Linked DNA regions of Homo sapiens: all the other regions are linked to region 5. The links are contacts of gene promoters, found by promoter capture Hi-C in blood cells and fetal thymus (Javierre and others, 2016). All regions are on one chromosome and are shown on one strand. The core of a region is centred on a gene start or on the middle of the fragment in contact, and the rest is flanking DNA. Distances in the headings are between cores, read along the strand shown.

Region 1 (2,712 bases), core at 151-2,650, 190 kb before region 5:
GAAGGATCACTTGAGCCCAGAACCCAGGAATTAGAGTCCAGCCTGGGCAACATAGCAAGACTGTCTCAAAAAAAAAAAGCAAATGAGGGATGATTAGAGAGAGGTCAGAGACCAGAGCAAGAAGTTCAGAAACCAGGCATGTGGAAAGTCCAAGATAGAGGAAGTGAGGAATTCACATACAATCTACCCTACTCAAAATGTTTTAAAGGCTTGGAAAGATTAAAAACAGGGTTGGCCCAAAGTTTGGAACAAAATTTATGCAACACTGTTTATGGGATGGCTGTTATGTTACCACTTAATCTGTTGGCTCTAGCCCTAAGATTGGGTTCAACTGGCAAAATGTATTATCTAGTCTAGAGCAAAGGTTTCTAAACTTTTTAGATGGCCAAAAGAGAAATTTCGTAGTGTAAGTTGATTTATGAAGTATATACTAACATAATGTAGCACATTCATTAGTTAATATTTCAAGGCACAATATCCATTTAAAAGAAGGTTCACCATTTATGAAACCCCGTCTCTACAAAAATACAAAAATTAGCCAGGCGTGGTGTCTGGTGCCTCTAATCCCAGCCACTCGAAAGGCTGAGTCAGGAGAATCGCTTGAAACCAAAATGCGAAGGTTGCAGTGAACCGAGATCACGCCACTGCACTGCAGCCTGGGTGACAAAGCAAGACTCTGTCTCCAAAAAAAAAATTAAAAAAAAGTTCACCATTTATAATGACGAATGTATGTAAATCCATATTTGAAATAGTCTTCATAATTTGTAAGCTTCTCACCCAATTTCTTCTATTTGATTAGTCATTACTTTTTTTGCTTAAATATAGGTGAAAAAGATTTGCACTGGAGATAGAATTTCACCACTGACCTCTGTCACTTCCTTATTGTTCCCTTGTACCTGTGTTATTAATATTATCTTCAAGCCATAGTTTCTTTTCTTTTTTTTTTGAGACGGAGTCTCACTCTGTCACCCAGGCTAGAGTGTGGTGGTGCAATCTCAGCTCACTGCAACCTCTGATTCCTGGATTCAAGCAATTCTCCTGCCTCAGCCTCCGAGTAGCTGGGATTACAAGTGCTCACCACCATGCCTGGCTAATTTTTGTATTTTTAGTAGAGACGGGGTTTCACCATGTTGGCCAGGCTGGTCTCAAACTCCCGATCTACAGTGATCTGCCTGCCTCGGCCTCCCAAATTGCTGGGATTACAGGCGTGAGCCACCATGCCCAGCCCATAGTTTCTTAATAATAATATTTTTAAGGTTTATATCAATTTTAGGCCGGGTGCAGTGGCTCACGCCTGTAATCCCAGCACTTTGGAAGGCCGACTCAGGCGGATCATGAGGTCAGGAGATCAAGACCATCCTCGCTAACACGGTGAAACCCCATCTCTACTAAAAATACAAAAATTAGCCGGGCGTGGTGGTGGTCGCCTGTAATCTCAGCTAATCAGGAGGCTGAAGCAGGAGAATCACTTGAACCTGGGAGGCGGAGGTTGAAGTGAGCCGAGGTCGCGCCATTGCACTCCAGCCTGGGCATCAAAGTGAGACTCCGCCCAAAAAAAAAAAAAAAAGGTTTATATCAATTTTAGACAGTTAATTTGGTTAATACTGAATAATATAATTCCAAATCCATCTACAATTGAAAGATAAATTGCTATAAGTCAAATTATATAGAAACCAAAATTAAAAAAAAAAAAGAGTGAAGGGGTGACATTAATGCCCTCAGATTGTGGATGCTCAGAAAACCTCAACTATTACACGTAACACATAACACTGTATCATATGGATTCAGTGACTATGTGGGTTCAATCTGCATGGTAAGTACTGGGAAAATTCTTTTCTTTTAGATAAAAGTAAACATAAATAGGAGGTGTGATTTTCTTTTCCTGGACAGAGGTGCATTCAAACCACTTTAGAGGCCAGGCCGGTCAGTCCGTCACCATGCCTTGTGCACCAGCCCACACCATCAGCAGCTTCATCAGGTAAATGCTGCTCCCTTTGTAAAGGGGATGTAAGTCTTATTTGAATTATAGCTGGAAGCTTTCAGCCCTCTGGAAGTCTTGGGATTCTCCAGTCATCATTCTTTTTTTTTTTATTTTTGAGATGGAGTCTGTCTCTGTCACTCAGTGGCACAATCTTGGCTCGCTGCAACCTCCACTTTCCAGGCTCAAGCAATCCTCCTGCCTCAACCTCCCAAGCAGCTGGGACCACAGACATCAACCACCATGCCCAGCTAATTTTTCTATTTTTGGTTAGAGACGGGGTTTCACCATGTTGCTCAGGCTGGTCTCAAACTCCTGAGCTCAAGTGATTTGCCCGCCCCAGCCTCCCAAAGTGCTGGGATTACAGGCGTGAGCCATGGTGCCTGGCCTCCAGTCATAATTCTGATTCACAAACTGTATGGAACAATTAGGTTGTATATGTACTATAAATGAACTATTGCATCCATTGTCGACTCAAGTTTTTTCCACTGTTACTATGTATAAAAGGTTTTCTAGATCATTTTCGGTAAGAAATTAAGTCCAATATCATACTGGTGATATTAGAAAATAAACTGGACATTTATCCTTAAGATTGCAAAATTCACTAATTTCATTCCAAAAAAATGTTAATGAGTTATTAATGAGATCTGTGGTCTTCAAAAAGGGTTCTGTATATCCAATTACATTTTATCTTATATTTTATACTTATATCTTTTTTTATATTTCCTTTTATT
Region 2 (2,700 bases), core at 26-2,525, 240 kb before region 5:
TGCAGTTGGGAAAATGGGACAGCACAGCCTGGTGGCTTGTTCAGGCAATCTCAACAAGGCCAAGGAAATCTTTCAGAAGAAGTGAGTGCTGAAAAGTGACTACAAAAAAATATACCCTCCTCTTCTTAGATGTATATTCTCTAAAAAATTTTTTTTTAGACAGTTTCACTCTTGTTGCCCAGGCTGGAGTGCAATGGCATGATCTGAGCTCACTGCAACCTCCACCTCCTGGGTTTAAGTGATTCTCCTGCCTCAGCCTCCCTAGTAGCTGGGATTACAGGCGCCCACCACCACGCCCAGCTAATTTTTGTATTTTTAATAGAGATGGGGTTTCGCCATGTTGGCCAGGCTGGTCTCGAACCCCTGACCTCAGGTGATCCGCCTGCCTCAGCCTCCCAAAGTGCGGGATTACAGGCGTGAGCCACCGTGCCCTGCCTTCTCTAAGAATTTTATAAGTGTGTGGCTTATAAAAAACTTTTCGTTTTATAGGTGTGATTTGGCCTAAATGTTAATGTCTTTTCACCCTGACATTCTGTGGTTGAAACACCAAACTGCATCCTTAGTGATTAAATCAAACTAATACCTTGAAAGTCACTAAAAACAGAAGAATCTAATATATTTAACACATGACTGACAAATTTAGGAAATTTGGGATAAGTGGAGACTATCCTGGGATAGATAATATTCAACTAGGGGCTGAGCACGGTGATGCCTGTAATCCCAGCACTTTGGGAGGTTGAGGCAGGAGGATTGCTTGAAGCTAGGAGTTTGAGACCAGCCTGGGCAACAAAGCGAGACCCCTGACTCTCCCCCAAAAAAAAGGAAAGAAAAAAAGAGAATATTCAGTTAGAATTTTTAAAACTTTATGATATAGATGAAGAACTTTCTGGAGAATTGGAGAACATGTTTCTTTCAGGGAAAGAGATTAGATGGATATCTTTTGTTTGAAATCTCAATGGCTTTTGTGGTGTTTGGGAAGGACAAGCATTGTTTTTCCCATTTTTTAAATTCCATTTGTCTCCAGAGCTTTTTTGTCCATTTAGTGTCCTCATTTAGAATTAGACTAATTTTGATTTATGGAAAGTTGATGTGTAAAGGAGCTCAGTGCTGGAAAATAAATTCTTTGGAGATTTTCTGTCTTGTAAGTCCATCTTCATAGTAGACCTTTATTTGTAAAGTTTTCTTACACCTTGGACTCTACAGATTCCTTGACAAAACGAAAAACAATTGGGAAGATCGAGAAAAGTTTGAGAAGGTGCCTGGAAAATATGATATGCTACAGATGGACTATGCCACCAATACTCAGGTAACTCTCACTATACTTTTCGAAAGAAACACATCTTCTTTTTTTATTTTATTTTTTAGAGGCAAAACTGTGCTCTGTTGCCCAGGCTGGGTGGCACAATCATGGCTCACTGCAGCCTCAAGATCCTCAGGCTCAAGTGATCCTCCCACCTCAGCCTCCTCAGTATCAGGAACTACAGGCACGTGCCACTCTGCCCAGCTGATTTTTTTTCTTTTTTTTTTGTAAAGATGAGGTTTCACTATGTTGCCCAGGCTGGTCTCGAATTCCTGGGCTCAAGCAGTCCTCTTGTCTTGGCCTCCCAAAGTCCTGAGATTACAAGCATGAGGCACCACACCTACTCCTGTTTCTTCTTACTCAGGGTAAAGCAGAATAGCTTAGATCATTCCTGGACTGGGACAGGCCAGGATATCTTGAATCCTTTCTACTTCTCACCTCAGGGGTGCTCTCACTGATCTTTGTAATCCCAAAGGGACAGTAAGAATGAGGATAGAATGTGCCTTTCTAGTCTTGGCTCTGTTATTTACTAAGGTTCTTTTTTTTTTTTTTGAGCTGGAGTTTGATTCTTGTTGCCCAGGTTGGAGTGCAATGGCTCAGTCTCAGCTCGCTGCAACCTCCAGCTCCCGGGTTCAAGCGATTCTTCTGCCTCAGCCTCTCAGGTAGCTGGGATTACAGGTGCCCGCCACTATGCCCAGCTAATTTTTTTTGTATTTTTAGTAGAGACAGGGTTTCATCATGTTGGCCAGTCTGGTCTTGAACTCGTGACCTTGGGTGATCTACCCGCCTCAGCTTCCCAAAGTGCTGGGATTACAGGCGTGAGCCATCACGCCCGGCCTACTAAGTTTCTTATAAAATCTTAGGCCCTATTTCCAGACGTTTATTGTTTTTTTCGTTTTTTTGTTTTTGTTTTTTTTTGATACGGAGTCTCGCTCTGTCGCCCAGGCTGGAGTGCAGTGGCGCGATCTCGGCTCACTGCACGCTCCGCCTCTGGGTTCACGCCATTCTCCTGCCTCAGCCTCCGGAGTAGCTGGGACTACAGGCGCCCGCCACCACGCCCGGCTAATTTTTTTTTGTATTTTTAGTAGAGACGGGGTTTCACCATGTTAGCCAGGATGGTCTCGATCTCCTGACATCATGATCCGCCCGTCTTGGCCTCCCAAAGTGCTGGGATTACAAGCGTGAGCCACTGCGGCTGGCACCAGAAGTTTATTGTTATGGACCAAGAGAGGAGTGATAAAAAATCAAACTGATTAAACAATTAACATTTAAATTTGTTTTCACTTCTGGATATATACCACCATAAAAAATTTAATTTAGATAAACTGAGGTATACCAGGATGCTGAAACTGTCCGGAAACAGTCACATATCCAAAAAAATGGAGAAGTTTTAGTCTTTT
Region 3 (2,700 bases), core at 55-2,554, 160 kb before region 5:
CCCACACACATAGAGTTCACTTCCTGCCAGGCTTGCAGCCCCATGCCGGAAGCGTCCGGGGGCAGGCAGGGCAGGCAGCTGCCCCCACTCAACAGTTCGTACCAGTCCCACGCCACAGCGGAAGGCCCGGGCCCACCACACTGCTCGGGATGGTTGTCTTAGGGCCATGTCTGGTCTGAGCCCATCCCCGCCAATCACTACCAGTGCCCGGTCAGGCTCCCTCCGTCTCTCTTGGCCTGGAACATCAGCCTCTACCATCAGCTGGTGCAACAGATCTGGGGTCAGGGGTGGAAGTAGCCCGGCTGCCCGCACCCTCCGCAACTCCCTGGTGGACATGCGGCCAAAGCGGACACATCGCAGCAGGGCCTTGGCCTCTGACTCCTGGGTCTCGGGGTTGGCAGCCAGCCAACACCGTGCAGCCACAAAGGCCTCAAACTCCTCCTGCACATGGAGCTCATCACTATCCAGGAGCTCAGCCAAGCAGGCAGCTGGTAAAGAAGGGAAAGCAGGACACAAGGCTACAGCAGGCAGGTGGGTGAGGAGGTAGTGACGGGCTTTGCTCCAGAGCCTCTCCAACCCAGGGGCTTCCGCCATGGGGAACAGGGCCAGGCAACGGGCAGGGCTGAGGCCCCGTGCCAAGCCTTTCTGACACAAATCCAAGCAGGAAGAGCTCTGGTACTGCAGAGCAGCCTGGGCAGCTCTCAGTAGCCCTGGCCACCTTGCCCGCACAACTCCGGAGTAAGCAAAAGAGACGAGGAGTCGCAGGTCCTGGGTGGAGATCGTCCGCAGAGATACCTCTGTGCCCTGGGATTCCCTCATCCCGCTCAGGAGCATGGCCCCAAAGAACTCACTGCCACAGGCCAGGGCGGCTCGGTGCACTGCAGGAGGGGAGAAGGAATAGAGGAGGACTCAAAGTATTGCAAGACCGATAGGCATTACCCCAACTTGGTACTCTAAGTTTGGCCAAACTCTAAGTTTGGCCCTCCAAGCCACCCACTGCTACAGACCAAACTGTGGTGTGCATCAGAATACCATGGGGTAGTTGTTAAAATGCAGGTTTCAGCAGTCCACTCCCAGAGATTCTGATTCAGCAGTTCTGGACGGAGACCCTAGAAATTTGTATTGTAACACTTCAAGTAACCCTATGTGATTCTCATGTTAGTGGCCTGAAGACACTTAGATAAACATTGCTTTAGTCTTTTTGGTCAGATGAGTCAGAAAAAGAGTCTTCATGGATCAGGTTGAGAGGAAAGCATTTGCTAAGAGGAGCACAAAATAAATGGGAAATGACCAACAAGCAACTTATATAGGTCTGTCTATATCGTGACAAAATAAAATTCTTTACAATCAAGAGCCAAGACTGTCAGCCATTCTGTTAGATTTTGCTGGGAAAGTGGCACCACTCGGGAATGGCTGTAATCCAACCTCATCGGATTGCTGTCTCCTCTTGCCTAAGATTTAGTGTTTAATGTTTTCCGTGCGTCCCAGCTTTTCTCTGCATAACCCTCTCCTGTTCTTGGTGTAATTTGTAGAATCATGAGATCTGAAACTTGAGAACTTCAAAATAATCTAATTCAATTATTCCCTTTAAAATAAGGAAACTGGTTGGGTGTCGTGGCACACACCTGTAATCCCAGCACTTTGGGAGGCTGAGGTGGGTAGGATCACTTGAGGTCAGGAGTTCAAGGCCAGCCTGGCCAACATGGTGAAACTCCATCTCTACCAAAAATACAAACATTAGCCGGGCATGGTGGCAGGCGCCTGTAATCCCAGCTACTTGGAGACTGAGGCAGGAGAATAGCTTGAACCTGGGAGGCGAGGGTTGCAATGAGCTGAGACTGCGCCGCTGCACCCAGCCTGGGTGACAGAGCGAGACTCCATCTCAAAATAAATAAATAAATAAAATGTGGAAACTGAGTTGGGTCCCAAAGAAAGCATGTGATTTATTTTTCATTTCCATGCAGTGGCTGTGTGGGCAGATCATCTCCATCCACTGCCACTGATGTCAGGCTGCAATAAGCATGCTTGTGTACCAATACCTTGGTTATCTGCATGGTCCTCATGACAATGAAACTGTCCTATTAACCTACGCTGTTAAACAATTAGACCTCATACTCAGCATCACTTATGGATTATTCTGGCCAAAATATTTAACTTGAATCTGTTCAACTCTTTAGATCTAAAGTCAAGTTTATAGGAAGTTGAAAGGCTAAAGGAACAATTTAGAGGGGAAAAACCACACAAATCAAGAAAATGGAGCATTTTATAGGATAACCAATTTTTTTTTTTTTGAGATAGGGTCTTACTCTGTCACCCTGCCTGGAGTGCAGTGGTACAATCTCGGCTCACTGCAACCTCCACCCTCCAGCTTCATGTGATTCTCGTGCCTCAGCTTCCAGATTAGCTGGGACTACAGGTGCACGCTACCATGCCTGGCTAATTTTTGTATTTTTAGTAGAGACGGTTTCGCCATGTTGGACAGGCTAACCTTGAACTCCTGGCCTCAAGTGATCTGCCTGCCTCGGCCTCCCAAAGTGTTGGGATTACAGGCGTGAGCCACTATGCCTGGCCCAGGGTAACCAATCTTACATGTTATTGTCTTTACCAATCAATATATAAAGTAATAAAAAAAAAAAAGGAGGAAGGACTGTACTAGATTAAAGGAAGCTTAAGAGACATGCAACTGAGAATAGCATAGTC
Region 4 (2,700 bases), core at 67-2,566, 210 kb before region 5:
AAGAGATCAAGGTGAAAGGTCTCCTGAGAGTCACGTGCTCACCCTCTTGGCATTTTCAACTCGAAATGGAAATTTGAATCTTTTTTCCCTGACACCCACACCCCTGCCCCAACCCTGAGCAGGGCCCCCATAAGCACACCCAGGAGTCCCATATCTCAGAGAAGAACCCAGCCAGTGACTCATCTCACCATAGAGGGCATGGGCCTCCAAGAGCCGAGAGACCAGACCCAATTCCAAGTGTGCAGCCACCACATGGAGGTTGGTAAGGAACTTCGAAAGAAGTCCACGGTTCCCGCTCTGGAGCTGAGAAGGTCAGATTGAATTCATTAGGGATATGAAGGGGCTGGTGAGAAGGGACAGTTTAGTCTCAGAACCTGGATACAGAGATAGGATCTGAGCTGGGACAAAGGACTTGAAGAAGAAGGGCAGGAAAACTGAAAGGAAAGAGGTCAAGGGAGTTTGGGAGGGGTAATGGCGGCGGTGATGGTGGAGATGGTAACGGGGAGAGGGGTCTCAGAGCAACCAAAGCACTCACTTTGGGAAAGGTGTCTATGGGGTCTAGGAACTAACCAGGTGGTAAGGCAGGTCTCCCAGAGCCTCAGGAGGGCAACTTCGGAAGGTGCCTGAGGCATCAGCGTCACATGTCTTCCAGAGCTGAGCTGCATGAACAGATATTGAGAAAGGCTCAGCCCTGCATCATTCCCAAGGGCAGTAGGTGAGCTGGCCAGCAGATGGGAGCACAGTGGGTGGTCCTGGCCTCCAGGCCCAAGCCCCACACTCAGTGCCCAGGCTGACTTGGGCTGCAATCACCTGCAATGAGGATGTGTGCCGTGTCCTCTAGCCCTGGCCTCTTCCCATAGCAACGTTTAGCTGCTGTTCTCAGGGGCCCATCAGGGAGGCACAGCCGGGCACCAGGGCGCTCCAGAGGGCCCTCCCCTAGCAAACTGTCCTCGTGTGAGGAAGGGAGAGAGAAGAAGGAAGAGGCCTGTCAGTGAGCTTCCTGGCACACAGTGGGCTCCTATTCCCCCCTCAAATAGCGGAAACTGGAGCAGCTGGAGCAGTAGCTCATTCATGGTCTGGGAGCCAGTTGTTGAAGCTATACAGAGGGCCCCGGCTCAAAGAAGGGAAGGCACAGAGAGGTCAGCGGGAGCTCTGCTGGGGCACCTGTACCTGCGCAGACTCTGGACGAGGCAGGCAAACGGGCCCATGGGGTAGGGGTCTCCACTGTTACCAGCAGCCACTGCTTCTTCCCAGCTCTTAGTCCCCTTCGGTAGTGTCCGCCACACACTCAGCACTCCGTGCAGCTGGTCCACAGTCAAACCTGAAAACTCAAGCTCTCTGAGGCCCTCATCTAACCATACGGTGTCCCCGCCCCCACCACACCCAGTCTCTCCTTGAACTGCCTGCTGAGACCCCAAGGGAACCAATGTAATCCGAACCCTGGCCCTCAGCCTCCCAACCAACCCACCCCAAGCACTGACCACTCCGTGTGACTTCTAGGGCAGTCAAGGCCTGGGGAAGGACATCAGGCCCGTGCTCCTTCTCCAGTGTGCTCAGGATGTGCTGCAGCAGCAGGGGGACAGTGGCAGGCAGGGTCCGGAGTCTCTCAGACACCTAGGATGGCGGGAGGACAGCCTTGTTCAGTGCAGTGGGAGGAGAAGCAGCTTGGCTTGTGGGATAGGGAAGGGGCAGCAGGAGGACAGTGTGGAGGAATGAAAAAGTAAAGAACAACAGTAGGAGGGAAGTGAGGCGAGGTATGAGGCGAGGATAGGGAGTGGGTGATCACAAGACAGCAAAGGACGTGGGATAGGGATGAGACAAAGCAGCTGAAGAGAGAATGGGAAGTAGTGATTAGGACTTGGAAGGTGATGAGAACTGACCTGCTCATACAGCGTGAAGAGCCTCAGGTGATCGGTGACCAAGCGCAGGTAGAGCGGCCGGCCTGATTCCCGCTTCACCAGCAGCAGTCGCATCTGGCAAGACTCAGGACTCAGGGTGGGGTCCAGGAGGGCTGCCCGCAGCCAGCCCTCTGCCCCAGCACCAGCCCCTCTGCCAGGCAGCTCCTCCTCTGAGAGTCCCCAGCAGACGCCAGGTCCATGGCATCATCCCAGGACACAAACCATCCCTCTCCTACGCTGCTCTGCCCAGCCAGCCCTGCCAGAAAACCCCTGTGGCTCGGCCTACCCCACCAAAAACCACTTGACTCATCCCCTCACCCCGAGAGGCCCTGGAAAGGCCATTCACCGGGGGAAGAGGGCTGGGTGACATGATCAGGAATCACAATTTTCTTATTAACAACTTCCCATGGACAGAATTTCTGAGAAAACAAAGGAGCAGGTCTGTGCAAGGCAGCTAGCGGCCTCGGCACCCCAGGTCCTCATAGCTCCCAGATTCACCCCACACACCCACCGGCCCCGGCCTAGAACCCAACCTGGTTGTTAAATGGTGACTCCTCCAGCCGCTTCCCGTACAGGGCCAGCTCCTCTCTCACCAGCCGGGCCCGAGCAGAGGCCTCCAGAGGCCCCAAGGCCAGCACGTGGGCACCCTGGCTCTGCTCAAGGGTCTCCCCTAGGCCTGCATCACTAGACACACTCAGCACCAGGTGTACACACTGTGATATTTGGGCAAAGGGGCAGGAAGGTAGAAAGAAAAGGAGAACCACATTGGAGAGGCCTCTCTCCTCCGTGCCGTATCCCTCCT
Region 5 (2,700 bases), core at 156-2,655:
ACCAAAGACCTGATACATTTTGAAGGCAGAAAGGATGAGGGATTTATAGGGAATTTATTTTGTTTCCTAAACTTCTATATCCTATACCATTGACATCAGTAGTGAGGTGACAATAGGGAAACAGAAAGACCAGGAGGAGAAAGATAAACAGGAAGAAGAGCAGGGCAGAAATTTCCAGTCTTTCTGAGACATATATTTCAAGTGGGCAGCATTCACAGCTGCCTAGGTTTTATTTGAAACTGCTAAGAGGTGCCCTTTAAAAAAATATACCTGGCTGGGCACAGTCACTCATGCCTGTGGTCTCATTGCTTTGGGAGGCCAATGCGGGAGGATCACTTGAGGCCAGAAGTTCAAGACCAGCCTAGGCAACATAGTGAGAATCCATCTCTACAACAACAACAACAACAAAAAGCCAGTTGTGGTGGCATATGCCTATAGTCCCAGCCACTCGGGAGGCTGAGAGGAGAGGATTTCTTGAGCCCAAAAGTCTGAGACTGCAGTGAGCTGTGATCACACAACTGCACTCCATCCTGGGCAACAGAATGAGACTCTGATCCTATATATCTGTATAATATATATGTATATACATATTTAGATACAGATAGATAGATATAGATACACACACACCCAAACTACGAATGTCTAAAATGTCACAATTCATTTGAATTTGGTGTTGATCCCTATTGAATGAAATTACTCTGAGGATACATCCTATTGGTTCATCTCAGTTATACTTTTATCTGCAAGATATTTTTAATTAGAAAGGAGGAGCTTCGGTGAAGAAGGGGAGAAAAAGCACTGAAAAGGAAAGAAAAGACAACAAAACCTAGGGAGAGGGATAGAAAAAGGAATCAGAATTCAGAAAATAGATGTAGGAACCTAAAGGATGCATTTCATCCACTTCAAAGTTTTGCCCAAAAAATGATGCTACCAAGGCCCAACAAATCATGTGCTAGGGACCACCTACCTGTTCCTGTTCAGTTTCTATTCAGATGCTGAGGGCTCTGTTTACCTGGTGACACCCAAAATTCTATGGAGACAACAATGACAACAGAATTACCACAGAGAACTAGAAAATGAAACTCAGCTGAAAAACGGCCACCTAAGATGGAAGAAGCCATGAGATGAGTAAGCGTTGCCTACTCACAAGGTTGCAAACTGTCCTTCACTTACGATTATCCCCCAACGCCCCCTCCTAAATCTGATCAATCGCATGGAACTTGATGGTTACAAAAGACAGAGCTAACAACTAGCGTAAGTGCACCTTCTTCTTTGACATGACCTTGAACTAAGTCCAAATGAGCAATGAACAGCTGAAGTCTCTCAACTGAAAAGATCAGGACAGAGAGTGCTCTCCAAAGCCTGTGACCCACCCATGCCTGCTCTAGGTCACTGTATGAGTCTCTAGCTCTCACATACAGGATTGAAATGCCATAGCTCAGAATTAGTGACAACATAATCTGGCCTTTATTTGCCAATTGCCCCTTATTTCTTACTACCTCACAATACAAATTCTCCCCTCCAACAATGGCTATAATATAGCCATTTTCTGTACTACTTAAGAAATAGAATTATAGACTAATAGACTTGGAAAGAACTTGAAAGATTATCTAATTCAAGATCCTCACTTTACAGACAAGGAAACTAATGAATAGAGAAGAAGAGGACTTCATGAAATCCCCAGAATTAGAAATCTCTCTTTCTCGTCCTTCTCCTTCTAGCTGTAAGGATACTATGCCCATAGCTGAATGTGGGGAAACTAAGCAGTAAGTCCAATTGTAAGAACTAAAAAGAGAAAAGAGTTAGTAGTCCGGCTCAAAGTCCTCTCTGTTCCTTCTGGAGACACAAAGAGGAGGTCACTGAGCTCTGAAAGTCTCAATCCCTCCCTGGGAAATCCTTATCTGTGTCTCTCTAAAGTCTTTAAGGGAAATGGTTTCAGACCAGTCAGGCTCCTTTCTTTATTTCAAGACACAAAGGGAGCTGCTGAACAGGAACAGATGCTGCCTGAGTTGTATATGCTATCTTTAAAAAAGACCCTAAGAGGTGACCTCTGTTGCTTCTACAGCTAGAAGCAGAGCTAGGATTAGGCTGAGGTTAATGAGACACTCACTCTAAGACCAAAATTTAAGAGAGTGCCACAAAACTCAATAATCAAGATAAATAATATTTTAATGCAACAATTTTAGAAAATATTTATTTATTTATTTTTGAGACAGAGTCTTGCTCTGTTGCCCAGGCTGGAGTGCAATGGCATGATCTCGGCTCACTGCAACCTCCACCTCCCAGGTTCAAGCGCTCCTCCTGTGTCAGCTTCCCAAGCAGCTGGGATTACAGGCGTGCACCACCACACCCAACTAACTTTTGTATTTTTAGTGGAGAGGAGGTTTCACCATGTTGGCCAGGCTGATCTCAAACTCCTGACCTCAAGTGTTCCACCTGCCTCAGCCTCCCAAAGTGCTGGGATTACAGGCATGAGCCACCACGCCTGGCCAGAAAATAAATTTAATGCAAAATAATCCCTGATGAACAAATGTTAAAATTTTAAATACCAGGATCTGGCCCTGCACTACGTTTCTCACATAACTCATCTTACCCTGATCCTAGCCTTGTCAGATTGGATCTTCAAAATTTTGTGATAGATATTTTGAGCATCCAAGATTTCTTTTTTTTTTTTTTTGAGACGGAGTCTCACTCTGCCGC

Evidence for each region. The method cuts DNA at HindIII sites, captures the fragments that hold promoters and counts their contacts. A CHiCAGO score of 5 or more calls a contact.
Region 1: a fragment that was not itself captured here is called in contact with the fragment with the promoter of RNASE11 in region 5 in 4 of 17 cell types (erythroblasts, total B cells, non-activated CD4 T cells and 1 more); the score reaches 8.9 in erythroblasts.
Region 2: a fragment that was not itself captured here is called in contact with the fragment with the promoter of RNASE11 in region 5 in 3 of 17 cell types (naive CD8 T cells, total CD4 T cells and naive B cells); the score reaches 6.5 in naive CD8 T cells.
Region 3: a fragment that was not itself captured here is called in contact with the fragment with the promoter of RNASE11 in region 5 in 1 of 17 cell types (erythroblasts); the score reaches 5.9 in erythroblasts.
Region 4: a fragment that was not itself captured here is called in contact with the fragment with the promoter of RNASE11 in region 5 in 3 of 17 cell types (total B cells, erythroblasts and naive CD8 T cells); the score reaches 8.2 in total B cells.

What each region holds. Positions count from the first base shown.
Region 1 is chr14:20,396,826-20,399,537 of GRCh38, forward strand. The region is part of intron 9 of TEP1 (telomerase associated protein 1); the gene reads right to left. Among named protein-coding and RNA genes, the nearest start is that of TEP1, 15 kb to the right of the region's middle. The HindIII fragment of the contact is 1,267 bases long and covers 768-2,034 here.
Region 2 is chr14:20,351,042-20,353,741 of GRCh38, forward strand. It overlaps PARP2 (poly(ADP-ribose) polymerase 2), which reads left to right. Exons shown (of 16, transcript NM_001042618.2): 6 at 6-81; 7 at 1,204-1,306. Among named protein-coding and RNA genes, the nearest start is that of PARP2, 8.8 kb to the left of the region's middle. The HindIII fragment of the contact is 4,027 bases long and covers 1-2,700 here.
Region 3 is chr14:20,429,842-20,432,541 of GRCh38, forward strand. KLHL33 (kelch like family member 33) reads right to left here. Exons shown (of 5, transcript NM_001365790.2): 3 at 1-878. Among named protein-coding and RNA genes, the nearest start is that of KLHL33, 5.0 kb to the right of the region's middle. The HindIII fragment of the contact is 2,721 bases long and covers 1-2,665 here.
Region 4 is chr14:20,380,743-20,383,442 of GRCh38, forward strand. TEP1 (telomerase associated protein 1) reads right to left here. Exons shown (of 55, transcript NM_007110.5): 27 at 2,432-2,611; 28 at 1,881-1,973; 29 at 1,482-1,614; 30 at 1,171-1,321; 31 at 811-944; 32 at 571-659; 33 at 189-303. Among named protein-coding and RNA genes, the nearest start is that of TEP1, 31 kb to the right of the region's middle. The HindIII fragment of the contact is 2,872 bases long and covers 1-2,700 here.
Region 5 is chr14:20,586,596-20,589,295 of GRCh38, forward strand. RNASE11 (ribonuclease A family member 11 (inactive)) reads right to left here and starts at 1,406. Exons shown (of 3, transcript NM_001394190.1): 1 at 1,265-1,406; 2 at 968-1,030. It overlaps RNASE11-AS1 (RNASE11 and RNASE12 antisense RNA 1), which reads left to right and starts at 1,629. Exons shown (of 5, transcript NR_122043.1): 1 at 1,629-1,723. The HindIII fragment of the contact is 10,143 bases long and covers 1-2,700 here.